Regions from separate parts of the Homo sapiens genome. Here all the other regions are linked to region 1. Evidence: promoter capture Hi-C in 16 types of primary human blood cells and fetal thymus (Javierre and others, 2016). All regions are on one chromosome and are shown on one strand. The core of a region is centred on a gene start or on the middle of the fragment in contact, and the rest is flanking DNA. Distances in the headings are between cores, read along the strand shown. Region 1 holds the start of PAK1 (p21 (RAC1) activated kinase 1). Region 2 overlaps MYO7A (myosin VIIA). Region 3 overlaps MYO7A (myosin VIIA).

Region 1 (4,526 bases), core at 1,258-3,757:
CATGCAAGAGTGAAGATGAGAGTGGCAGGGGAGCCACAGAAAGTGAGACTGCAAAGGCAGGCAGTGGTCTGATCCCTGAGAGCTTTTTATTCCATGTTACTCTGAAATTTATCTTCAGAATATGAAGAGTCAGGGGTAGGGGGCGCTGATGTGGTAAGGTTTTGTTTTACAGAAATCTTTCTGGATGCACAGTACCTTCCTTTGAGGCACTGCTTCCTTCAAACCTAGCACAGGGACTCAAAACATGTGCTTAGTAAATGTATATTGAATTGAACTGAACAAGCTTTTTACCAAATGCCCTGTTATGGATGAGGCAGGTCACCTTCCCTGCAGGACTCACTTTGGCCAAGAGAAGACTTGTAAAACAGGTCCAGCAGCCTCAATTATTGCACACTACTACCTGTACAACTGGAGTCCCCCAGAGATTAGGGCAGACCTTCATTGTTTACTTGTCTACCTCACCCATTAGACTTTGAGCTCTTTGAAGACAGGGAATATCTTAATAGACTGAATCCCCATAGCCTTAGCAAGAGGCCTGAAACATAGTAGCTCTCCGAACTCCAGTAATGTTGGATAAACGAATTGACTGAATAAGCAAATTTACCAAGGTAGACCCATGAGCTCATGTAGTTAAAGAGTATGGATAAGCTTCAGGGAAAGTATGGGAAGTTTTCAGGGTCAATGTTCCCAAAACCCTTTTTGAAAGGCATAGTTTCTAGTTGAGGTGGGGAGTTTTTATATGCACCTGACTTAGAATTTTCCAAATAGGAACCAAAATGTTGTAAGTGCTGTGGTAGAAATCCCACCGGGCCAATGGGAAGAAATCAGCTCTGTCTGTAAGAGGAGAGACAGGATGGAGGCCAGCAAAGACTTCACAGTGTGGGAATTCTTCAGTGGACTCTTGAAAGCTGAGTCCGGTGCTTGCTACTTGCCCGTTTTGGGGCATAAAACCAAACTTCTGGAGCTTTTAAGGCTGGAAGTGACCTGCTCAAGGTCACACAAGAAGTAGATGAAGCCACAGGGTAAGAGAGATGAGGTATCTGTACTGATAATTCCTACTTTCTCCTGACAGAGTTGAAAGAGAACCCAAAAATGTAGGAGGCAAAATTAAAGATTGTTCTCAGGAACAATTCTTAAAGTCAAGACTAATGAATCTGAATTTTTATTAGTAACCACGGAACTAACCCTTCCCTTCACTGTTCACAGTTTTTGTAACAGTAGAACAATTATCCAAGGGGTTTAAAAACCAAGGACGTTGCTCACAACGCCACACCCACTACTTCTCAAGTATTCTTCCAAAACACTCCCAGTAATGTGTACTGCTGAAATAGGATAGCGAAGGCTACAACAATCATGTCTTTTCAAACGTAATAATGAACATAAAATAACTATAAATCTCCTTCCCCGGTTGTTTTTCACTTCCCAAGTTACAGAATATTCCGGGGTGGGGGAGGGGCTGCGTAAGTCAAGTCCTACCAGCCCTTATTTTTCAGGGAGTAGAACCCTAAAGGTGACTGTCCAAGCCTGGAAGGGGTCATTTATTCCATGCAGAAGGAACTGGGCGCCGCTTTGCTGTGCCTCCTCGTAGCGGGACAGGGTGAGCGCCGCAGGACTGCGAAGTTCGGGACGGACTCGGTCCCGGACCGGTACTCGTGTGGCCTCCCGGCTCCAGCCTGGCCTGGCCCCGCCCCGCCCCTTCCCTCTCCCAGGTCTCTCGAATCGCCCGGCGTCTGAGACCCGCGACCCCGCCGGTACGCGCACAGGGGGCCTTTGTTGGCCCGACGGGAGCGGGCCTCGCGGGGCGCCGCCCGCCTCACCTTACCTGGCGCCTCCTCCCGCCCAGGCGCCCGGCCCCGCAACGCGAAATAAATGGGCCCAGACCCCCACTCCACCCGTCCCCACCCCCGCGCCCCAGCCCTGGCAGCCCGGGACGCGAGGGGTACTGGGCGGTAGGCCCGCTCTCACCTTCCGCGCTCGCTCAGCTCCTCTCGGCTCCTCCTCCTCCTCCCGGCGGTGGGTGCCGCCTAGCCGGGAGTGAGGGCGCGAGTGTGCGCGAGCTACCGCTTCACTTTCTCCCTCCTGCCGCCGCCGCCGCGCTGCCCGTGGCGGGGCTCCCCTCAGGACAGGGGAACTGCGAGGGAAGGGATGATGGGGGGGCGGGAGGGAGCGAGGCGACGCGGGCGGGGGGGGAAGGGGGGACTGAGGGGCGAGGTGCGAAGGGCTCAGATGGCCTCTGAGGCAGGAGGTGGTAACTGGATGCGGAGACCAGGTTCCTCGAGGGGGCTCACGAAAGCGCGGGGCTCCGTGGAAAAGGGAATGAGAGTCCAAGGGGGAAGGCGTCTGTGGGGGAGGACTGCAGAGCCTGTGAGGGAAGCGCGATGGGCGAGCGAGGGGGCGGGAGCGTGTGGGGGAAGCCGTGAGGGGGCGTCTACTGTGCAGCCACCACCTTCGGCTCCGGCTGCAGCCGCGGGAGGGCAGCCTCCCCCGCCCACAGCCGCGCTATTGTACGCCGCCCGGCAGGCCTGACCGCCTAGTTCACTGGCTCCCCTACTCCTCCTCCTCCCGCCTCCTCCTCCCCTCTGCCCTTTCCCCTTCTCCCCCTCCCCCTCCCCCACTCCCCCTCCCCGGCGCGGCGGCGGCGGCTGCGGCTCCGGTGGAGCCGTGCCCGCCCCGCCTCCCGCAGGTGAGAGGGGGCGGGGAGGGCCTGACCGACCCGTGGGAGCGAGGCCAAACCCTGGCCCGCATGAGGGCGAACGCCTGGGATTACGTCATCGGCGCGTGACGCCAGAGGCTGGGGAATCACCCGCTTGCTGCGTGACGTCATCGCGTCGCGTCACTGTTCTCGGTCCGCTGTCCGTGGCGGGTTGTTTCCGTGCAGCCTTTCTATCAGACAATTTTGGGACGATTTCTGGGAGGGCTACTGTAGTAGTCAGGATGGAGAAAGACGGCTAACTTCCGGCGCTGAGGGTCCTTTTCAGGTTAACAAAGCACCACCGCATCTATGAGCTCGTTGTCAAGGGCTGAATTTGAAAACTATCCGATGTCGTGTGATCTCACAGCCAGACATGTATTATGTTTTCTTTCTGTGGGAGAGGGGGCAGGGGTGGGAGGAAGACAAAGAAATTATAACGGAGATGTTTGAACTAATGTGAACTGACATACGAAAAGAATGGGCTTCCTTTCACGTTTTTTCCCCTACCGTGGAGGGTACTTTCGACCCAAAGCTTTCTTTCTCCTGAGCTCAGATTGTGTATTTCCCAATACCTCCCGAGCAGCATTACCTGCATACTCTTCGTACCTCAGATTCAACATGTGCGAAACTGAGACAGCATTAGAAAGGCTAAGAGTCCGGAATCAGGTTGCCTTGCTTGAAATCCTAGCTATTCAAATATTAGTGATAGGACCTTGACATTTCTAAGCCGTAATTTTTCTGTAATAATAAGTAGTACCTTAACTAGGTCTTCCTAAGCCTCAGTTTTACCATGGTAATAGTAACAAGCCCTTTAGAATGTTGGCTATTATTATTATTTCCCCCCCAAAATTGCTTCTTACGTTCCTTTCCGTTCTCAATGAATGGGCCACCCATTCAACAATCCCCTAAGCCAGGAACCTAGACATACTAATAGCTCCCCGTTCTTCCTCTCTCAACATCCATATCAAGTTGGACACCAAGTCTTGTAGCTTCTCCTAAATATTTTTCAAGTCCTTGCCTGTGTCGTCTTCTACTACCACCACCTGAACAACTGGAGCAACCTTTAGTCTCTTCAAACTCAATCTATTTTTCTCACTAGTTACCTGAGTAGCCTTATAAAAGCACAAATCTGATGATGTCCTCCCGTTTAAACACCGAAAGGATTTTATTGCTTTCAGGATAAAGTTCAAACTCCTGAACTTGGCACTTTATTACCTGACTGCTTACACTAGCCTTTCTAGCTTTGTCTCACATCATTTATTTTTTGCTCCAAGCACACTGAAATATTAACGTTATTTGAATACACATTTCTTCATGTCTTCAAGCTCTTCCCTACTTAGCTGACTGGCCAACACCTATTCATTGTACAAAGCTGAGCTCAAATGTCATTCATATTCATATTCATATTCATTTGACTAATATTTCTAAAGTTTCCCTAAGCCTTAACAAAACTGTAATTCTATAGTATTTCTATGCCTTTTATGGAAGTAACTGCATTTGTGTATCTAATTTCTTGAGTTCCAAGTCATATTCCTTTCCATATCCTCAGCACCTAAAACAGTGCTTGACATATACCTAAGTATCAATATGTTGTTAAAATATATTTAATAAGGCCAGGCGCGGTGGCTCACGCCTGTAATCCCAGCACTTGGGAGGCCAAGGCAGCCAGATCACCTGAGGTCAGAAGTTTGAGACCAGCCTGGCCAATATGGCGAAACCCCATCTCTACTAAAATACAAAAATTAGCCGGGCGTAGTGGCAGGCACCTGTAATCCCAGCTACTCAGGAGGCTGAGGCAGGAGAATTGCTTAAACCCAGGAGGCGGTGGTTGTAG
Region 2 (4,526 bases), core at 391-2,890, 330 kb before region 1:
TCCCAGAGGAAGGAAGAGGCAGAAAGGGCTAAGGCCCTGTGGGGAATTATTAATATTGGCTCGAGACCGGCTTGATGCCTGGGAGGAAGGAGGGTAGACAGAAAGAACAATGTGCATTTGCATGGGTCTCTCATCTTTACATGCACTGACTCCTTCCATTTCATGGCTGGTGGAAACTGAGGCCCAGAAAGATTGAGTGCCTCACCCAGAGAGACACAGCGTTAGTGGTGGAGCTGGGACTATAAGCCAGATCTCCTATGTGTTCACTGTGGATATGTGCTGGCTTTCCTGGGGGGAGGCCCCACAGGGGTTTTGGAGTACCCCTGAGAACATTCGAACAGACCCATTCTAGGAAGGCACGACTCGGGCTGGGAGCCTGCATAGCTGGCAGGGCCTGGGAAACCCTCTGCCCTGGTCATATATTTGATAGGAGAAAAGCTGGGACTTGCCCCACGTTACACAGCCACACTGAGGCATGTGTCGTGTCACAAACGAGATCTTCCATTCAAGGTGAGTACCAAGCAAGGCGCCCCATACAGTGTGTAAAGTTGTCACGGAACATGGTGTAGGAATGGGGCCAGATGCAGTGGTGGGGTGCCTGGGGCTAGCCATGGGGATGGGAGGGGGTGGTGGGGTCCTACCTGGAGCCTGGTTCCCCATTCTCACCTCCCTCCTGCCTCTCAATGAAGCTTCATCTTCTTTCATGGCTTCCTTCCTCCCTTCCTTCTCCCTCTGAGCCAGTGACTCCTGATCCACCCTGATTTTGGTCCTGGCTCTGTCCTCCAGATGCTAATAGTCCTGTCAGTCACTGATTTGATGAGTGACTGTGGCCAGGTTCCTTTCTCTCTTTGGCCCTCAGTTTCCTCGGCTGTAAAATGAGGATCCTTACAACCTGCCTGCCTTGCGATGCTTCAAGAACTTTCCCTAGGGCCACAGGAATATTCCCCTTCAGAAGTCCTAAGACCCCAGAATTCTCCCTGAAGCCTCTCCCCTGCCATCTGAAACTGTTTCCTCAAGTCTGGCCTAGAGCAAGATAGTTTGGTCACTGCCCTCTGTGACAGCCCTAAGTAAGAAGAGTTGTAGTCATGTCTGTTTGCTGTGTGGCCCCAAGAGCTTCACTCAGCCTCTCGGAATCTCCATTTCCTGCTCACATGAAGTTTTTTTTATTTTGGTTATTTTATCTTCTCCCAGGGGAAACAAACATTTTCTGTGTGCCAGGCCCTGTGCTGGGTTGAGGGATACAGGTGACTCAGAGAGACCCCTGCCTTCCAGCTGCCCTCAGCCTAAGTCTCCAGCTTGCCTTCAGGGCCCTTGAGCCATCTGGGCGGGGGAGGACTCTATCAGTGTTTCCTGTTTTGCTCAGTGAGCTGCATGTGGGACTGGGCCCAGGGAATGTCAGGAAAGAGCCCTGGATTTGGGGTTTGTCAGACCTGGGCTTCAGTCCTGGCTCTGCCACAAAACAGCTGTGTGACCTTGGGCACGTTTCTTGACCTCTTTGAGGAGAGAAATTGGAGACAGTCCCCTGGCCACATGCTGTTGCCCACAAGCGAACACGCTCCCCACCCCTTCTCTCTCACCGAGGCCCGCTCTGGGCTGGGCTCTGGGGAGCCACAGATGAGGGACTCAGACCCAGCCCCACCCTAGGGAGCTCCAGGCCAGTGGGGAAGGGGAGCAGACCCTGTGTGGGGTGGCTGTCAGGGGTAAGCCCAGGGTCAGGGAGTGCAGCTGGGGCTTGGACACAAGCAGCTGTGAGGATTATATGGGGCAGTTTACGGGATGCAGCCTGTGGAGCCCAGGCCCACAGTGAATGCTCAGTAAACAGTTCTCTTCCACGCCCAAGCCTCTCCAATTTTTCTTACTTTTTCTGGGAGGAAGTTTGGGTTTGGGACTAGCCTGACTCTATCATGTGCCAACCTCCCATTCACATGAAGAGAGGGTCCACAGGGGCAGCTGTGGCTGGAAAATAGCACATAGATGGCAGTGGTCCCATAAGACTATAATGCCATATTTTACTGTACCTTTTATGTGTATGTTTAGATATGTTTACATACACAAATACACACTATGGATTATGACTGCCTATAGTATTCAGTACAGTAGCAGGTTGTACAGGTTTGTAGTGTAGGAGCAAGAGGCTACCCCATCCAGCCTAGGTGTGTAGTGGGCTGTACCATCTAGGTTTGTGAAGTACACTCGATGACTTCATATGTTTGCATAGAACTTATCTCTGACATTAACAATGCATGACTGTAGCTGGTTCTGATGGGAACAAGAGGAGGCTGAAACAGTAATGAGTTGGTCTTGGACTCACTGAGTTCAGCCTTCACTGAGAAATGTGGAAATTGAGGCTCAGAGAGGTCAGCGACTCACCCAAGGCCGGGTAGGGCCTGAAACCCAGTCTTCTGACTCCTAGCCCAGAACAGATTCTGTCAGACCATTACCACGGTTTACTTCATTGTGAATCAGTTTTATAAGTTGTTACATTTTTTTTTACTTGATATTAAGTTATATTCTTATTAGAATGTCCCAACTCCTAGGGAGTTGGAGTACCACCCAAAAAAGAATACTTTTATTAGGATTAGAATAAAATCTAAGCTTGTATCCCAAGGCCAGCAAAGGGCCTATGTGTCCTGGACCCTGCCTACTTCTCTGAGCTCCCTCTCGCCCATCAGGTCCTACCTCCTGGCTGTTCCTTTCTGCCGCAGGGCCTTTGCATGTGCTGTTTCCTATGCTGGGATTACTGTCCCCTGCTTTTCCCTTGGCTGACTGCTTGTCACCCTTCAGGTGTCAGCTCAGCGATTCCCTCCATGGAGCGGCTCCATTGGCTACTGGGTCTAGGTTGGTTGGCTCTGTCATTCTCCACCATTGGCTTGTTTGTTTCCTTGACAGCACTCACCAGTATCCAAAGTGATCGTGCTGATCTATTTGCTCAGTTTTTTGTCACCACCTCTAACTAGAACGTAGACTCCATAATCACTGCTCAACCCCCAGCATTTAGATTAATCAGTGCTTTGCACTCAGTAGGTAATCAATACATGTTTGTTGAATCCATCAGTGCTGAATGTGGTTGTTCTTAGTCCATTTCTCTGACTTGGGATTTTACGTTTGGCTCTCACGATCCCTTGCTGAATGAGTAGTGCGAGTCAGGCCCTGGGCCAGATGCCGCAGGGGACACAAAGCGACATCCTCCCCCAGGATCAGGGCTCTCTCCACATGCCAGAAGACAATGTGGCTGAACCCTTCTCTAGTGCCCAGCACGGAGTGGTGTCCCTGTGAGGAACCTGTCATAATGATGATAAAAATCAGCCCTGGAGGTGAAGGAGGCTGCAGCATTCACCCACTGTCTGGGTGTCCTGTGGTGTCATGTTAGAGAGGAAGTGGTTTGAGTGGTCTGGTGTTTCTGTCTAGACCCCAGTGAATCTGTCATACACATGTAGGGTGTAGATCCATGGGGAGAGCTGGGCTTTGAGAGGCCTTGGCTCTCTCTGAGCCTCTGCTAAGTCATCCATAAAATGGGAATATGGCTGTTCTAGAGGGGGGATTGATGAGATTGCATAAATGCCCAGCCCAGGGCCTGCACTGCTCCAGAAGGTTGCTAGTAAGTGTGAGTCCCCTTCTCTTCCCCCTTGTGTGGTTGGCTCAGAGCCTCTGATTGTAGCAGAGGGATATAGGGCTGCCTGGAAGGGGCTCCAATCCCCCTCCCTGCTCACCTGGGCTGAGACTCTCTCTCGCCCATAGGGGGACCATGTGTGGATGGACCTGAGATTGGGGCAGGAGTTCGACGTGCCCATCGGGGCGGTGGTGAAGCTCTGCGACTCTGGGCAGGTCCAGGTGGTGGATGATGAAGACAATGTGAGTAGTCCCCTCCCTCCTCCTGCCCCATGCCTTGGGGTCAGACCTGGGCTGACAGCTGCCTTGATGCAGGGAGATGATCGAAAGGAGATGGAGGCCATGCCCATGCCCCCACTTCTGCCTCTCAGATGCCCCCTTCCATGAGCTTTCCCCAGCACCCCAACAAGAGGGAACCCCTGCCTGCCTCAGGCTACTTGTTCTGTTTCCACAAGCACTTCAGTCCACTCTGCATGGTGTTAGAGATGTGTGTGTGTGTGGTGGGGTTTGAGTGCAGGGGGAGCAGGCTAGGAGCTCCTCAGACACAGAGGTGCTTTGGGGGCAGACTGCATTCAAATCCTATCTCGTCCATTTGTTAGCTGCGCAAACTTGGCCTAGTCTCCTTCCCTCCTGACCCTCAGTTTCCTCTTTGTAAAATGAGGATAATAATACGTATCTCACAGGGCTGTTGACCCATACATGAGATCACACGTGCAGAACACCTCAGTGAAGTTAGTGCTAGTCTGAAAGTTAAATGAACGTCCACAGCCTCACTGTGTTGGGTTACTGACATCACATGAATCCACTGTCCACCTTGACACTGCTCTGGAAATTGGTCTCACAGATTAACCCTTTATCTGTGGCCCAGAAGGAAAGGGACCCCAGAAGTGTAAGTTTTCTAGGTAATGATAGTGGGG
Region 3 (4,526 bases), core at 1,279-3,778, 270 kb before region 1:
CTTCTGGCTCTTCAATACTCATCTCCTGTCAGCTCTCCAAGTTAGATCAGGGTCCTCCTCAGTGTTCCCAAAAGACCCACCATCTTCAAGTGATAACAGCAGTAACAACTACTCTGCCTGAGGCTACCGAGGCCCTGGCCAAGTGTGGGAAAGACAAAGATGAAATGGACCCCACCCTGTCCTCAGTGGGGAGGGGGGTGGGAAGAAGACAGTGACAGGCCTGTGACAGTGCAGTGAGCAGGGAAGCCCAGAGCCACAGGAGCCCAGAGGAGAGGCCCCATGCCGACTGGGGTCCAGGGAGGAAGCCCGTGTGACCAGAGCACAGGGGGCAGAGAGCTAAGCGTGATGCCAGCACAGAGGCGGGAGAAAGCTGGCCTGTCCAGGGAACTGCGAACAGCTTGGTTTGGCTGGGAACAGGCACAGTGAGGGAGGAGAGGCGAGGTGGAAGGAGTCTGGGAGGCCCGCTCACAACAGGCCCAGGAGTGTGGGGCTTCCTCCCAAGGGCAATGAGGAGCCGTGGAAGGCTTTTGAGCAGGAGAGTAGCCCACTCTGGTGATGGTCTCTGTATGGAGAGTTGTGACAAGGTGGAGGCAGAGTGGCAAGTGGGCAGACATGAGTGATAACACCTCAGTTCTTCTGTGGGAAGATGTTCCAACTCAGCCTGTCTCTGCCCCCATGGTCCCACTCACCTCTGCTCTACAGCAGGCGAGGAGTCAGGCTTCCTCAGCTTTGCCAAGGGAGACCTCATCATCCTGGACCATGACACGGGCGAGCAGGTCATGAACTCGGGCTGGGCCAACGGCATCAATGAGAGGACCAAGCAGCGTGGGGACTTCCCCACCGACAGTGTGTACGTCATGCCCACTGTCACCATGCCACCGCGGGAGATTGTGGTATGTGGCCTGGGGGTGGCAGATGGGTGGGAGGTGCCATTAGACCCCTCTTTGTCCACTTCCCACAGCTGTACAATAGGTTAACGGTCTAGTGCATCTGTGAAGATGATCTTGGGATCTTATGGGACACACATTTAAAGTTGGGGCAGTGCTCAAACCTGTGCCAGGTGGGGAGGGGCCTAGAAATGGCATCAGATGAGGAACTGCCAAGGGGTGGGGCCGGGGGTGGGGATTGGAGAGAGGTGTATCACCCGCACTGTCTGAACAGGCAGTGGGGGCACAGCTGGGAAGGGGGCCCTGCTTCTTCTGGAGCCCCCTTGAGAGCAGCTCTGAGGACTCACAGCCCAGCTTCCCTAGTGGCTCCTGAGCCAGGCTCAGTGGACGAGGCAGCTCTCATACCATGTCCCGCTGCCTTGTCCAGGCTTTCTGACTGACCCAACCTGATCAGACACCTGGGGAAGGGCCCTGAGCTCAGCACAAAGGAGGCAGCAGGGACCTCAGAGACCCCAAGGAGGAACGGGGCTCCCAGGGTCAGAATGGGGCATGGGGTCCATACCCCTGAAGAGTCTCCCAGAGTCCAGAAGGCTTCAGGGTATACCATGTTGATCCTGGTGGCCACAGGTAGAGAGCTGACCTGAGCCCCCTGTCTCTTGGTCCCTAGGCCCTGGTCACCATGACTCCCGATCAGAGGCAGGACGTTGTCCGGCTCTTGCAGCTGCGAACGGCGGAGCCCGAGGTGCGTGCCAAGCCCTACACGCTGGAGGAGTTTTCCTATGACTACTTCAGGTGATGCCTCCTGGGGAAGGATGGGAGCCACAGGGCTAGGAGCTGCAGGCTTCCGCTACTGTCTGGTCGTGTGCTGGGGCTGCTTTGTGAAGCCCCCACCTGTGAGCAGGGCCTGGGTCAGAGGGAGCTGGAGGGCTGTTTCTGTCTGCCAGGATGACCCGTCCTATGTGTCTCATCTTATCTTCCTTCCTTCAAGAGATGTCACTGCACCCACCCCAGGCTGGGCATTCGAGACTGAGTCCTGGTGGGGATGCGGGCTGGAAGCAGGCAGCTGGGATTCGGCGTGCCCAGCACTGTGATGAGGATGCTTCTGGGGCGGGGGGTGGGGGGCAGTGAGAAGCTTCCTGATGGAGGCGTTGTGCACTGAGCTCTACAGGGGGCGCAGGGTGGTGGGGGAGGCTGGGGCACAGCCCGTGGTGTTCTCGCCGCTGGGGTTTCACAGCTGAGAAAGAAAGGCCCAGTGACTGCCAGTGACTCGCCTCGGGTCACATGCAGGGCAGGGAAGAGCAGGGCCTGGTGCCCACTCTCAGCCTCTGGACACAGGGATGGGTGGGGGTGGGGGTCTCACAACCTGGGGGTTTCTCCCCGGGGCTGCCAGCGATGGGGCGTTGCTGACGGTCCCTGTGCTGCGGCAGGCCCCCACCCAAGCACACGCTGAGCCGTGTCATGGTGTCCAAGGCCCGAGGCAAGGACCGGCTGTGGAGCCACACGCGGGAACCGCTCAAGCAGGCGCTGCTCAAGAAGCTCCTGGGCAGTGAGGAGCTCTCGCAGGAGGCCTGCCTGGCCTTCATTGATATCCGTGCCACTGGGCTGTGCCCAGGGGAGCCAGGGACCGGGCAGGGCCTTCGTCTGCACACTGCCTTCCTCCTGAGGGCCTGCTGCGACCCGGGCACACATGGGGAGGGTTGATGGAGTACCCCCTCCCTTGCACCTTTTGATATGCAAGGGGCTGCCTCGCCCACTGTTTTCTCTGACCCTGTCATTTGGGTGCCAGGTGGATTTGGTGCCTTGTGCTGGGCCAGGCATGCAGGTAGAGCAGGGACCAGCCCAGCCCCTGGCCTCATGGGACCATACACACATCCAGATCAATGTTGAGATGGGACCCGGCAGCACTGTGACCTGACCCATGTGACCTGGAGGGGGCAGAGAGGACTTCCTGGAGGAAGTGGTATCTAGGCTGAGCCCTGAAGGCTAAGTACGACTTAGCCAGGCAAAGGGGAGGGAGGGGGAGTGTTCCAGAGAGAGGGAGCAGCAGCAAGGCCCCGAGGCACACAGAGCAGGGCTGTTCCAGGGCTCCGGGGCTTCAGCACAGACAGGATGGGAAGACTGGGCTTAGGCAGGGTTCCCAAGCCCTGTGAGGAAGCTTGGGCCGTGTCCTAAGGCCAGGGTGAACCACTGGGCAGGGGGTGGCATGGTCAGATTCACCATCTGGGAAGTCCATCCCAGCTGCTGTGAGGGCTTGGGATGTGGGGCTGGTGACTGTGAGGAGGCGGAGAGAGGGTGGGGCAGATCATGCCCATTTTGTGAGTGTGCAGCCTGAGGGCCCAGGGTCACAGCTTCAGGTGATGCAGGCCCTGTGGGAAGTGGGGCCTCCGGACCCCAGGCCAGTGCTCCCTCTATTCGGCACAAGCCCTTCCTTGACAGTCCCCAGCTGTGCTCAAGTACATGGGCGACTACCCGTCCAAGAGGACACGCTCCGTCAACGAGCTCACCGACCAGATCTTTGAGGGTCCCCTGAAAGCCGAGCCCCTGAAGGACGAGGCATATGTGCAGATCCTGAAGCAGCTGACCGACAACCACATCAGGTGAGCCAGGCACAGTGGGCGGATGAGGGGCAGACCTCACCTGCTGTGACGGGCAGCTCTTACCCTCCTGAGGCAGCTGCTGGCTCTGCCTGGATGCAGTCCTTCCTCACACAGAGCCGGGAGCTGCTCATGGGCCCCCTCACATCCTAGCTTGGCCCCAACGCCCAAGGAGGGCCTAGCAGGAACTGGGAGGTGGTGGATGTCTTCCTTTGAGTCTGTCCTCTAAGGGTAACAGCCCCAGCTCCTCCTAACGTTTGGCTGGAGCCTCGTCTGGATGCCCCTTCCCTGCCTAGACCCTGCTGTCTGCCTGCAGGTCCAGCTCAGTCAAGTGTCCCCTCCCTGGTGCAGGCTGGGCCGGCTGTCAGCTGGAAGCACTGGCTGAAAACTCTCATGGGTTTGAGTGTTGGTCCCAATGCCCAAAGGGTGCCACCTTCTCCTCCCGCTGGGACAGCCCAAGACAGGAGTAGAAAGTCAGGCACAGGCTCCTCTCAGAGTCTGAGAGAAGCTCCACCCTCTCTCCTTACACCCAGCCCCCCGCCTTCCTCCCCAGCTGTGTCACCCTCTACATCTCTTCCACAAATCCATCCTCAAACTACACATCAGCTCTTTTGACAGTGCCAAACCTTTGTACATACTGTGCCCACAGCCAGGAAAACTTTTCAGCCCCTTCTCTGCATGCCGTAATTTGCTTCATCCTTCAAAGCCTAGTTCAAATGCCACCTCCTCCTAGAAGCCCTCCAAACTTCCCACTGTCAGGCCCAAGAAGCTCAGAGTGGTGGCTGAAGGAGCCTGGGGTGGGACTGGTCTAACTCGTTGCCACTCAAAGTAGAGGTGAATTAAAGAGCTTCTGCGAAAATATAAATCACACTGCTTCCTTCATGGAGAAAGTCTTGCTATGGAAACAAACAAAAAGCCTCAGCTGAAGCAGAGTGCATGGTAACCCGGTGGCTTTTCATTGTGGCATAAGCCCCTTATCTCCACGTGGACTGGTAGCAGTGTGTGGCCTGGCGCGGTGGGCCAGGCACACTTTGGGTAGCACTAG

What was found. The method cuts DNA at HindIII sites, captures the fragments that hold promoters and counts their contacts. A CHiCAGO score of 5 or more calls a contact.
Region 2: a fragment that was not itself captured here is called in contact with the fragment with the promoter of PAK1 in region 1 in 3 of 17 cell types (endothelial precursors, M2 macrophages and megakaryocytes); the score reaches 6.2 in endothelial precursors.
Region 3: a contact is called between a fragment that was not itself captured here and the fragment with the promoter of PAK1 in region 1, in 2 of 17 cell types (endothelial precursors and megakaryocytes). The highest score is 6.1, in endothelial precursors.

The regions. Positions count from the first base shown.
Region 1 is chr11:77,471,587-77,476,112 of GRCh38, forward strand. PAK1 (p21 (RAC1) activated kinase 1) reads right to left here and starts at 2,508. Exons shown (of 15, transcript NM_002576.5): 1 at 1,966-2,508. RefSeq lists an enhancer at 1,616-2,532 and silencers at 1,773-2,082, 2,103-2,152, 2,383-2,742. The HindIII fragment of the contact is 2,576 bases long and covers 647-3,222 here.
Region 2 is chr11:77,138,971-77,143,496 of GRCh38, forward strand. It overlaps MYO7A (myosin VIIA), which reads left to right. Exons shown (of 49, transcript NM_000260.4): 3 at 3,739-3,852. Among named protein-coding and RNA genes, the nearest start is that of MYO7A, 13 kb to the left of the region's middle. RefSeq lists an enhancer at 1,040-1,606. The HindIII fragment of the contact is 1,906 bases long and covers 688-2,593 here.
Region 3 is chr11:77,200,746-77,205,271 of GRCh38, forward strand. MYO7A (myosin VIIA) reads left to right here. Exons shown (of 49, transcript NM_000260.4): 36 at 703-893; 37 at 1,555-1,679; 38 at 2,315-2,472; 39 at 3,331-3,484. Among named protein-coding and RNA genes, the nearest start is that of MYO7A, 75 kb to the left of the region's middle. The HindIII fragment of the contact is 1,023 bases long and covers 2,018-3,040 here.